3 separate regions of the Homo sapiens genome follow, and regions 1 and 3 are each linked to region 2. The links are contacts of gene promoters, found by promoter capture Hi-C in human tissues and cell types (Jung and others, 2019). All regions are on one chromosome and are shown on one strand. The core of a region is centred on a gene start or on the middle of the fragment in contact, and the rest is flanking DNA. Distances in the headings are between cores, read along the strand shown. Region 1 has its middle 15 kb from the start of NEK2-DT. Region 2 holds the start of NENF (neudesin neurotrophic factor). Region 3 overlaps LPGAT1 (lysophosphatidylglycerol acyltransferase 1).

Region 1 (3,650 bases), core at 435-2,934, 740 kb before region 2:
GGGGGGGCAGAATTTATATAAAAAGAGTATTATATGGTAAATTCTTGTCCTGAAATAAATTAACTGGTTGTTTAAAGAAAGAAATATTTGTAATAAGTCAGAAAGTTGAGGCATGTCGAAGAATTGTCTGCAAAAGTCATGAAAGAGAAAAATGTTATAAAAAAGAATTTATGCAAATAATGTTGTATAATTTAAAAGTAACTAGGCCTCCTGAATGTAAAACTATTTTAAAAAAACAGTTTATGTGCAAGGTGTATCAGAAAAGTAAAATATACCTTTAGTAAAAGGATTATAAGGAGGCATAAGAATGCACATTTTTACCTACATTAAAAAGTTTTTAAAAAATTATTGTTTTGAAGATTTAAGCAAGTTTTAAAACGTTAATTGTAAAGAAAATTCTGTGTGTAAACATATTAGCTAAAGTTAAAGAAGTATCATCCAGTTTTTCTGTGAACTGGACATTAAAGTAAAAGCATAACAGGTTTTTCTTAAAGCACCAACCTGCTCTTTCACAAAAATTATAAAAGGTTAAAAAGAGTCTATAAAATCTTACCTTATGGTCAAACATTAAAAATTAGATAAATATGTCTACAAGGTTTTATTAAAATTAGGTTTAACATTACTAACACACTAATATAAAGATAAAATTTAGCTTATCTGGTATAAAAATCATATGAGAAGCATTGTTAAATGTAAAATGGTATTTGGCTTTCTTTGTTTTAAAAACTAATAAAAATAGATGCTAAAGGAAATTTCTCAGTTAAAAGGCACTAAGGACTATAAAGTCCACTGCCAAGGTCCCCACATATAAAACAAAAGGTCAGTTTCTTAAAAATTATATACTTGGTTTATCTTCCACTTTCCTTTCTCTCAAAAACTAAAAGTCTTTTAGCACATGTACCACCCCTAGAATTTCTGGTAAACCAGCACCAGCCTGAAGATCACGTTCTCATCAAACGGTGGAAAGAAGAAAAACTCGAGCCAACCTAGGAAGGACCCCACCTTGTGCTGCTAACCACCAAGACTGCTGTTTGTACAGAAAAAAAAAAAAAAAAAAAAAAAAAGGATGGACTCATCACACCCGAGTCAAGAAAGTGCCACCTCCTCCAGAGTCATGGGCCATAGTCCCAGGGGAAAACCCTACCAAACAAAAGCTAAGAAAAATTTAACTCTTTTCCTCTATTCTATTACTCTTTCTTCTTTCCTCGTTCTATTGCTGACCATCTAGTTATTAACATAACCAAGTCAATTTCGCCTCAAACTATTGCATTTAATGCTTGCCTTGTTATACCCTGTGGGGACTTGCCAAGTCAAAGACAGCTTTCTTCTTCAGAAAAGTACTTCTGTCCCTCCTGACTCTCCTCAGACTGGGAATTAGTAAACTGAACCATTTAATCCCGGGAGATTTCGATAAAGACCCCAGTGCCAACCAGGAGTCTTGCCCCCTGATGTGCAGCTTGCATGTCATAGTTGGACCAACGTTCTGTGGACCACTACAGAACAAGGATGGACTGCCCCAACCGGTTTTTGTAATTTCCTAAAACCATACATTCATTTTACTAGAGGATCATAGCAGTTAAAGACTTAAAACAAACTTTAGCAATTAAGACGGGATACCAAGATGCAACTGCCTGGTTAAAATGGATCAAATATTCCATCTGCATGTTAAACAAAAGCAATTGTTATGCTTGCGCACATGGCAGGCCAGAGACCCAGACTGTCCCCTTTCCACTAAGGTGGTCCTCCGTCGACCAGGTGTGGGCTGCATGGTAGCTCTTTTCCAGGATTCTACAGCATGGAATAATAAGTCATGCCAAGCTCTCTCTGCTATATCCCAAAGTCAGGCACCCTGCAGGTCAGCCCCCAAGGGCCATCCAGCTTCCGTCCCCCAACACTAAGTTCACTTCGTGTTTCTCACGACAGGGAGGAAACAGCATTCCTTGGAGACCTAAAGGGATGCAGTGAGCTTAAGAATTTTCAAGAGCTTATCAATCAGTCAGCCCTTGTTCATCCCCGAGTGGATGTGTGGTGGTATTGTGGTGGACCTTTACTGGGCACTCTGCCGAATAACTGGAGGGGCACTTGTACTTTAGTCCAGTTGACTATCCCTTTCACCCTGGCATTTCATCAACCAGAAGGAAAAAAAATAAGACATCATAAAGTGAGAGAAGCCTCCTATGGGTCTTTCGACTCTCATATCTATTTAGACACAATTGGAGTCTCACGAGGAACAGCAGATCAATTTAAAGCTTGAAATCAAATAGCTGCAGGATTTGAGTCAATATTTTAGTAGGTGACAGTTAATAAAAATGTAGATTATATAAACTACATCTATTACAACCAACAGCAATGAGCTTTTCATGAGTTAAAAAAAACTCATGTCAGCCCCAGCCCTGGGGCTACCTGACCTGACAAAACTCTTTGAACTCTATGTGTCAGAGAAAAAATGGCAGTTGGAGTTTTAACCCAGACTATGGGGCCCTGGCCAAGGCCAGTGGCCTATCTCTCAAAACAACTAGACAGGGTTTCCAGAGTCCAGCCCCCAGATCTAAGGGCCTTAGCAGCAACAGCCCTGTTAGCACAAGAAGCAGATAAACTAACCCTTAGGCAAAACCTGAATATAAAGGCCCCCTTGCTGTGGTAACTTTAATGACTACCAAAGGACATCATTGGTTAACAAATACTAGATTAACCAAGTATCAAAGCTTAAAATCCCCACATAACCATTGAAGTTTGCAACACCCTAAATCCCACCACCTTGCTCCCGGTATCAGAGAGCCCAGTTGAACATAACTGTGTAGAAGCGTTAGACTCAGTTAGACTCTAGCAGGACCAACCTCTGAGACCATCCTTAAACATCAGTAGACTGTGAGCGGTACGTGGACGGGAGCAGCTTCGCCAACCCCTGCAAAGTGACTCTGAAGAAGATGACAAGCCCTGCTCCAGTCACACCCGGAAGCTGACTGGTCCACGCACGGCCGAAGCATGAGAAAACTCATCACGGGACTCATTTTCCTTAAAATTTGGACTTTTACAGTAAGGACTTCAACTGACCTTCCTCAGGCTGAGGGCTGTTCCCAGTGTATGCATCAAGTCACTGAGGTAGGACAAAAGGTTGCTACGGTCCTATTATTTTATGGTTATTATAAGTGTACTGGAACTCTAAAAAGAACTTGTTGGTATAATGTTATTCTATACAAGGTATGTAGCCCAGGAAATGACAAACCTGATGTGTGTTATGACCCATCTGAGTCTCCCATGACCACAGTTTTTAAAATAAGATTAAAGACTGAGGACTGGTGGGGGCTTATAAACAATACGAGCAACGTGTTAGCCAAAACAGAAGAAAAAGGGGTGCCCAAAGAAGTCACCTTAAAATTTGATGCCTGTGCTGTCTTTAATAGTAATGTTAGAAATAAGGTGTGGTTCTCTTAATTAGAAAAGAGGCTATATGGCAGAAAATAAGTACATCTGTCATAAATTAGGACTGTGTAGAAATAAATGTAAATACTGGTCTTGTGTCATTTAGGCCACTTGGATTTAAAAAAAATGAAAAGGATCCAGTCCACCTTCAGAAAGGAAAAAATGGCCCTTCCTGTACTAAAGGGCAATGTAACCCCTTAGAGCTAGTAATAACCAATCCCCTTGAT
Region 2 (3,736 bases), core at 923-3,422:
TTTTTTGTTTAGCATGCTTGGGATAATTCTATTCATTCTGTTTTGTGCTGTGGAATATACTGCATTGTACTTTTTATGTAGGAATAAGAGTTAAGCTTATTCAATGCTTCTTTAAATTTAACACGTTAATTTTCTAGATTTCACCTTTTTCTGGGACTTAGAATTATGTATGATTGGTCCTCACTATACAGATGCTTTCTGACTGGCTAGCTCTCTACTTTGGGCAAAGGGATCCTAATGGTTAGGCAGGAATATCATCGCTTCTGTTCAGCTTGAAGTTACTGAAGATGGATCTCTGTCCCCCTGCACCCCTTAGGATTAAAGGTCTCCTTGTAAAAAGGAGGAGGGAATTATGTCAGAAGTGTCCTAACCAGAGTGATTCCATCTTGAATAAAGGTCAGATAAAGCCAAACCTGCTGGGCGACTTTCCCAGGAAGATAGGCACTCTTCACAAGATGTTTATGGTTGAGGAAATGAGATAATGGAAAAAGGCATTCTTAGTTTAAAAATGAGTTTCACTTTAAAGATAACAGTACACCCATAAATTCTCCCTGAAGTCAATAGTTACACAAGAGAATAACAATACTAATAGTCTGTAACAAGCTGATCATAGGCTTTTGTAATGAAGTACGCTAGTTTTAGCCCTATAAAAGCAAGCATTACATTGAAGGCAGAGGTGCTCCTATATAAACAATACTTGCTTAGTACTACTTCAAAGCAAGGATACTACTCAGAAACACAGTAGTACTATTATTAGAAATGGAGTAGTTTCTAATGAACTATTTTAACTACTATGCTCTGCGACTTGCCCTGATTCTTTGCCGTGGACGTCTAAGAACCTGCTCTTGGGTCTGGAATGAGACCCTTTTTCTGTTAATTCCTCTATTCCAGTCTTGAAAGTAAAAGCCAGTCTTGAAAATAACCTGTGAAGCCCCCAAGATCCACCCCCACTCCCTTACCCGCTTCCTTCCTGACTTCACCTACCCCTCTTACCTTCCCTTGATCCTCCAGCAAGCCGGGCATCCTCATTCCTCCGCATTTATGCACCTGATCCTTTGACCAAAGTGCTCTTCCCTCTAGACCGCCTCCTTCGCCTCCTGTAGATTTTTATGCAAATACCCTGTTCTCAGTGAGGCCTTCCCTAACCTGCCTATTTAAAATGACCATCCCCATAACCGGGCACCGTTCCTCACACCTGTAATCCCAGCACTTTGGGTGGATGAGGTGGATGGTTCACTTGAGGCCAGGAGTTCGAGACCAGCCTGGCCAGCATATAGTGAAACCTCATCTCGACTAAAAATTAAAAAAAAAAAAAATTAGCCAGGCGTGGTGGTGGGTGCCTGTAATCCCAACTACTCTGGTGGCTGAGGCAGGAGAATCACTTGAACCCGGAAGGTGGAGGTTGCAGTGGGCCGAGATGGCGCCACTGCACTCCAGCGTAGGCGACAGACTCCGTCTCAAAAATAAATAAATACATAACAATAAAATAAAATAAAATGTCCATCCCAGTGCTCCCTATCTCTTTGCCCTACTTTTTCTCCCTAGTATTTACCACCATCTAACATACTACTTAGCATCTTATTGTCTATCTGCCCACACAATGTAAGCTTCACGTGGGCGTGGATCTGTCTTGTTCAGTGGTGAGTCCCCAGTGACCTGGTACATGGAGGTACTCAAAAATATTTGTTGCATAAAGTAATGAGCAAAGTTTGGCACAAATGTTAGCTATTATTATTTCAGGGCGTATCGGTAACAGCACCCTACCCTTTGCAAAAATCTCCTTGGGAACCAGAAACTTAAACACAACCAGGAAGAAAAAAAATCAGCCAAAAATAAAAGCGAATTAAGACAGTTGGGGTCTTATTTTAGAAATATACCTTTCTAGGTTCTGGTATGTTGGGCTCTGTCATCTTTCTACCTGATCAAGGAACCACTGTGACATTTTTTGGTAACTTCCAGTCTGTAGTTTGGATTTAGGAGTTCAGGATTCCAATCCTAATTTCCAGGTTCCAGCTGCGTGGCCCGAGTAGCCCGGCCAGCCCCACCCCGGGGCGCAGGAGGCGCGCGAAGGGCGGGAGTTCTCGGGTCCCCGCCCTCGGGGAGGCTCTGGGCGCGGGGCGGGACTCCGGGACGCTGGGCGGGCGTGCTAGGGCCCCGCCGCCCTGGCCCGGCCTTGCCTTGCGCTGCGCGCTCACCATGGTGGGCCCCGCGCCGCGGCGGCGGCTGCGGCCGCTGGCAGCGCTGGCCCTGGTCCTGGCGCTGGCCCCGGGGCTGCCCACAGCCCGGGCCGGGCAGACACCGCGCCCTGCCGAGCGGGGGCCCCCAGTGCGGCTTTTCACCGAGGAGGAGCTGGCCCGCTATGGCGGGGAGGAGGTAGGCGGGGGTGTCGCGGGCCGAGGGACCCGGGGTGGCGTCCGATCTGCGGCGAGCCGAGCGGGGACCCAGGAGGCGCCGGCGGCCCAGGAAGCTCTGGGGGACGCGCGGCCCGCGGCGGGCGCCCTGGGCCGGCGGGGGGCCTCCTCTCTCTAGGCCCCGAAGGATGGCCGAGGGGTGAGGACGAGTCCTCAACAGTCGGAGCGCTCCGCTTTGCCCGCACACCCCACCCTGAACTTCTCCCTCGGTCCCCGGGAGATTTCCCCTCTAGCCGCCTTTTCGTTGATGATCTGCGTACAGACCTCAGAACTTTTTGGTTTTCATGTTAGCATCAGCCGAGGCGTTTACTGTGCCCACGCATAGTGGGGAGTGGCGGGGGACGGAGGGAGGGAAGCAGAGCCTGCTCCCTGGGTTAGGTGGGAATTGAGACAGGTCCTGGGATAAGCCAGTCTTTGCCTGCACTTCCTTTTCCTGCCCCTGTATCCCAGGCCTCTGCATCGGACTCCTCAAACCCACTTTTAGGTCATGTACCCCTGGGGCTCAGCCAAAGCTGGAAGTGAGCGCAGAGGGTGGACTGGAGGTTAGAGACCCCCACAACCCCCCCGCCACACGTCAATAGAGACCCCCCCGCCCACACACACCCACACACGTCAATAGTCTAGAGGCGTCCAGAAAACTCACAACCACCTGCCCACCTGGGTTGGTTGGGACTGGAGCCGCACGACAAGGACCAACAGGGGGCTGATATTAGATGTGGAGCGGGGGAACGGCATTGGGGGGAGGTCATAGTACCATAGTATTTCAGAGCTGGCAGGAACCCATCTCCTGCTTTTACACATAAGGAAACTGAGGCCTGCCACCTGTTAGTGGTAGAGCAGGAAGAGGCCTGATGTTTTTCAAAACCCTCTGGCCTGGTCTCGCTAATTCCTGAGTTAATTGGCCTTATATGGACTAGGATTGCATGGGGGTATCAGAAACCTGGCCCTTAGTCAGTGATGCCAGTTTGGGCATCATTTGTGAAGGGGCCATTTAGAACCATGAGTCAGTGAGGACACCGAGGGAGGGAGACATGGCTGGGATGTGAGGATGTTAAGGGATGCCTTTTTGCCGGTAGCAGAGGGAACCAGATGGTTCAGAGTCCAGGCATCCGTGCAGAAAAGAATTAACATGGCAGGCCTGCTCTCCTTAGAAAAGCCTACTTGCAAGGGTGGGACTTGTCTAGTGTCTGGATTTCTCACCCTTCCCTACCCAATAACGGTGGACTCACTTGCCTAGGCCGTATATACAGATGGTGTGGTTAGTATTGAACACTGTATATGCTAGGCAGAGGGTGCCCCATGTGACCAGCCCCCAGTGAAAACCT
Region 3 (3,329 bases), core at 374-2,873, 680 kb before region 2:
TTGATTATTCAGGGATGCTTTTCTAACCCATAGATTATTCAGGCTTCTGTATTTCCTCTTCCTGATAGCTGTCTTTCCGCATCATTTCACTACTCATTAACACAGTCATAAATATATAGGCAAAAAACCCCTAAGAAACAACTTAAATCATTTAATTAGTAAGCGTCCCTAGAAAAAAAATGTCTGATGAGAGTAAGAATTCAAACTCCTAAATAAAAGTAATTTTTGATTTACCTATCATTTATTACCAGATTATCTATCCAGAAAGTAATCAATCTAGTAATCCTTCCTTTATAGTGGAAAGTTAAGGATTGGTTGTAATATTAAAGACCAATAAGATAGATCTGAACTCATAGCTATCTTCTTTTTTAATATACTTTTGGAATTCTCAGTGAATTTGTTTGCTTGCCCAAAATATTATTTTCCATTCTGTAATTTTTCTTTACCTTCCATTACTTACAGGTTTCTCTGCAATTTAAGTACAGTTCACCACCAATAATTGTTTCTGAAGTTAAGGGTGACCTGCTGGCTTGGTCACTTTTGCAGTGACTGGACCTGCCTGTGGCCAAGCACATGTTCCATCACTGTAACTCATCAATACCAAGATTCCAGCAATGGATTCTCAACCTTGTCTGCTGTGGGAATCTAGGCAGTCTAGCCAAGACCAAGAAGAGCTGAGCTTCTACAAGCTATTGATATAAAACTGGCATAGTTTTATCTTCTTTCCTCTTGACAAAATATATATACTTTAAACGTCCTTTCATCTCCCTTCACAAAGTACAAATTAGGAACTTTTCTTCAGTTTTGTACAGTGGCATATTGCTGCTTCCCCAGATTGCCATATAAGAATACTGATTCTCTCTTTACCTTCTCTAGTGCAAGCAGGAGAACTCCAGTTACTGATAAGGAAAGCACTACCAATGCTTTCAAACATATTTTGCAAACAGAAGAGAGAGAACATGTTAAAGAATCAAAGAAGGATAGGGCAGATCAAATACACATCTATTTACAACTCACGGAGATATTTAAAAAAATTAACTCACATATCTATTGGCATTTGTCACCCTGGAGACTGTGAAAATGACACCGTACTTGAAAAGTAAAGCATCTTATAGAATAGTTTAATGTGTACAGTATATTTAACAATATCATGTTCCTTTGGAGCACAGTGATGGCAAAAGTGGCCCTCAGCCACATTTATGTATGCATGTTCGCATTTATTTTTGGATAGGAGAACTGGTCACTCTACCCTGTGGCTTGCTGTAGCAATGAGGAAAAGGTCTATCAGCTAGGACCGTGCATGCTGTATTTGACAGTGAGCAACTTCTCCCCCAGATGGTTGACTAATCCCTCAAGTGAACAATTTCATTTCATCCAGTAATTTAGTGGTGCTTGCTGGGCCTCAAACAGAAGCATCATTAAGCTTCTATTGGGCTTTCTGTCATCATCCATACCTCTAAATTGAGATTGGTTTCATTTATTCACCGACACTGTAGAACACATAATGAAATGCTTAGATTTAAAAAAAAATTGCATTTTATAACAACCAGTCCCCAAACCAAACACATTAACACTGTCTTCTGCATTTTACCAGTAGTAGTATAATATTCAATGAGGTATTTCAGTTAATGCATCATTCTCTTTCACATATGCACTGAGTTATCGTAAAGATGAAGCTGCTGTGGGCTTTTATTTGGTGTTGCTTTACCTTTCCCACATAACTGGGGAAAATTCACATCTTTTCTGTTTTTTTTTGGTTTATTTAAAAATAGAAAACAGCAACCTTTTTTTGTTTTATAGCCTACTTCTCAAAATTGTTGTGTGATTAGTGACAACGGGGGAATCTACAATGCTCACATCACAGTAAACTACCACTGACTTACTAGGATCTTAATAGTCTTACAATCCCAAACAAAAACCCTACTCATCTCACTGATGCAGTACCAGCACTTTTGGAGAAGGGTGTGGTTCTCTTATGAGGTAAATTGTACAAACATCGCAACAAATTTCTAAAAAATGTTTTCTAGAAATAGAAACTTGACTTTACCCTCTTCAAAAGCAACTGGAGGCCGGGCGTGGTGGCTCACGCCTGCAATCCCAGCACTTTAGGAAGCCGAGGTGGGCAGATCACCTGAGGTCAGGAGTTCGAGGCCAGCCTGGCCAACATGGTGAAACCCCATCTCTACTAAAAATACAAAAATTAGCCAAGCATGATGGTGGGTGCCTGTAGTCCCAGCTACTCGGGAGGCTGAGGCAGGAGAATCGCTCGAACCCGGGAGGCAGAGACTGCAGTGAGCTGAGATTATGCCACTGCACTACAGCCTGGGTGACAGAGTAAGACCTGTCTAAAAAAAAAAGAAAAAAGAAAAAGCAACTGGAAGAGATTGGGGGGAGCCTTATGTGCTGGTATCGTTCCTAATTACACTCACCCTGACAGGGGCAGCTCCTTGATGTAATGATTCAACAGACTACTGTCTGCACAGGTCCTAGGGGTGCCACATGAGAACCTGTCACCATTATAAGCCACTAGCTCTTATTTTTCTATAAACTAGCCTATTTCCCCTTAAACTGATCATTTAAATGTTCTATAGTAATTTGTTTTAACCATCCCCAAATGCATTTAGTGCCAATGTCAAAATGGAAAAAATAAAGCCTCTGAGCTGCAATAGAGGCATCACGTCAGGGTGGTGTCCAGGGCAGGATGGCGCTGGAGAGCACTGGCAGGCAAATAAACACACAGAGACAAGACAGTTCTCGAGAACCTCACACACTGCTATGCTCCCATTTGTTTTCAGGCTATATTACTAATCCTTTGCTATATCTGCATCTCAAAAAAGTGCATTTTGCAAAATTATCAATTTATGATATGCCTCTGATACAAAATGAGAAGTCAGATAAGGAAAAGCACGAGTGTATGTAAACACAGTGTTGGACTGAGCTAGCCTTTGTAAAGAACACATCCAGTACCAGAAGGGGTCCAGTGGACACTGCTTTTCCCCCACAGAGAATGTCAATATTCTAGAGTTTGTTACTGCAACAGACTGGAGTTTGTTACTGCAACAGACTGGAGTTTGTTACTGCAAACGACAGGGAAAGAGTTCTTCACGAGGTGCCAACCAGCTCCCCTCAAGTTTACTGAGTTGGTGGAAATGTGGGCGTTCTAGAGAACTGCCCTAATATAGACTACAGCTAAGAGGGATGAATATAACTTTCTGAGCTTCAACTAAATTGTCAAGTATAACTGGTGGCAACAGAATTTCTCTCAGATAGTCTTCTAGGATGATTTTATGATTTCCTCTTCTCCAAATGTGATGTTTGCTTAAATATGT

Evidence for each region. The method cuts DNA at HindIII sites, captures the fragments that hold promoters and counts their contacts. A contact is called where the count stands out against the background at its distance.
Region 1: a fragment that was not itself captured here is called in contact with the fragment with the promoter of NENF in region 2 in 2 of the 25 tissues and cell types used here (lymphoblastoid cells and spleen).
Region 3: a fragment that was not itself captured here is called in contact with the fragment with the promoter of NENF in region 2 in 1 of the 25 tissues and cell types used here (hippocampus).

The regions. Positions count from the first base shown.
Region 1 is chr1:211,689,055-211,692,704 of GRCh38, forward strand. No RefSeq gene overlaps it. Among named protein-coding and RNA genes, the nearest start is that of NEK2-DT, 15 kb to the left of the region's middle. The HindIII fragment of the contact is 4,257 bases long and covers 1-3,650 here.
Region 2 is chr1:212,430,748-212,434,483 of GRCh38, forward strand. It overlaps NENF (neudesin neurotrophic factor), which reads left to right and starts at 2,173. Exons shown (of 4, transcript NM_013349.5): 1 at 2,173-2,373. The coding sequence starts at 2,197. LOC105372906 (a long non-coding RNA gene) reads right to left here and starts at 2,070. Exons shown (of 3, transcript XR_922577.4): 1 at 1,878-2,070; 2 at 994-1,097. RefSeq lists a cis regulatory region at 248-535, a silencer at 1,959-2,518 and an enhancer at 2,679-2,768. The HindIII fragment of the contact is 24,294 bases long and covers 852-3,736 here.
Region 3 is chr1:211,746,336-211,749,664 of GRCh38, forward strand. It overlaps LPGAT1 (lysophosphatidylglycerol acyltransferase 1), which reads right to left. Exons shown (of 8, transcript NM_014873.3): 8 at 1-3,329. Among named protein-coding and RNA genes, the nearest start is that of NEK2-DT, 72 kb to the left of the region's middle. The HindIII fragment of the contact is 4,126 bases long and covers 1-3,329 here.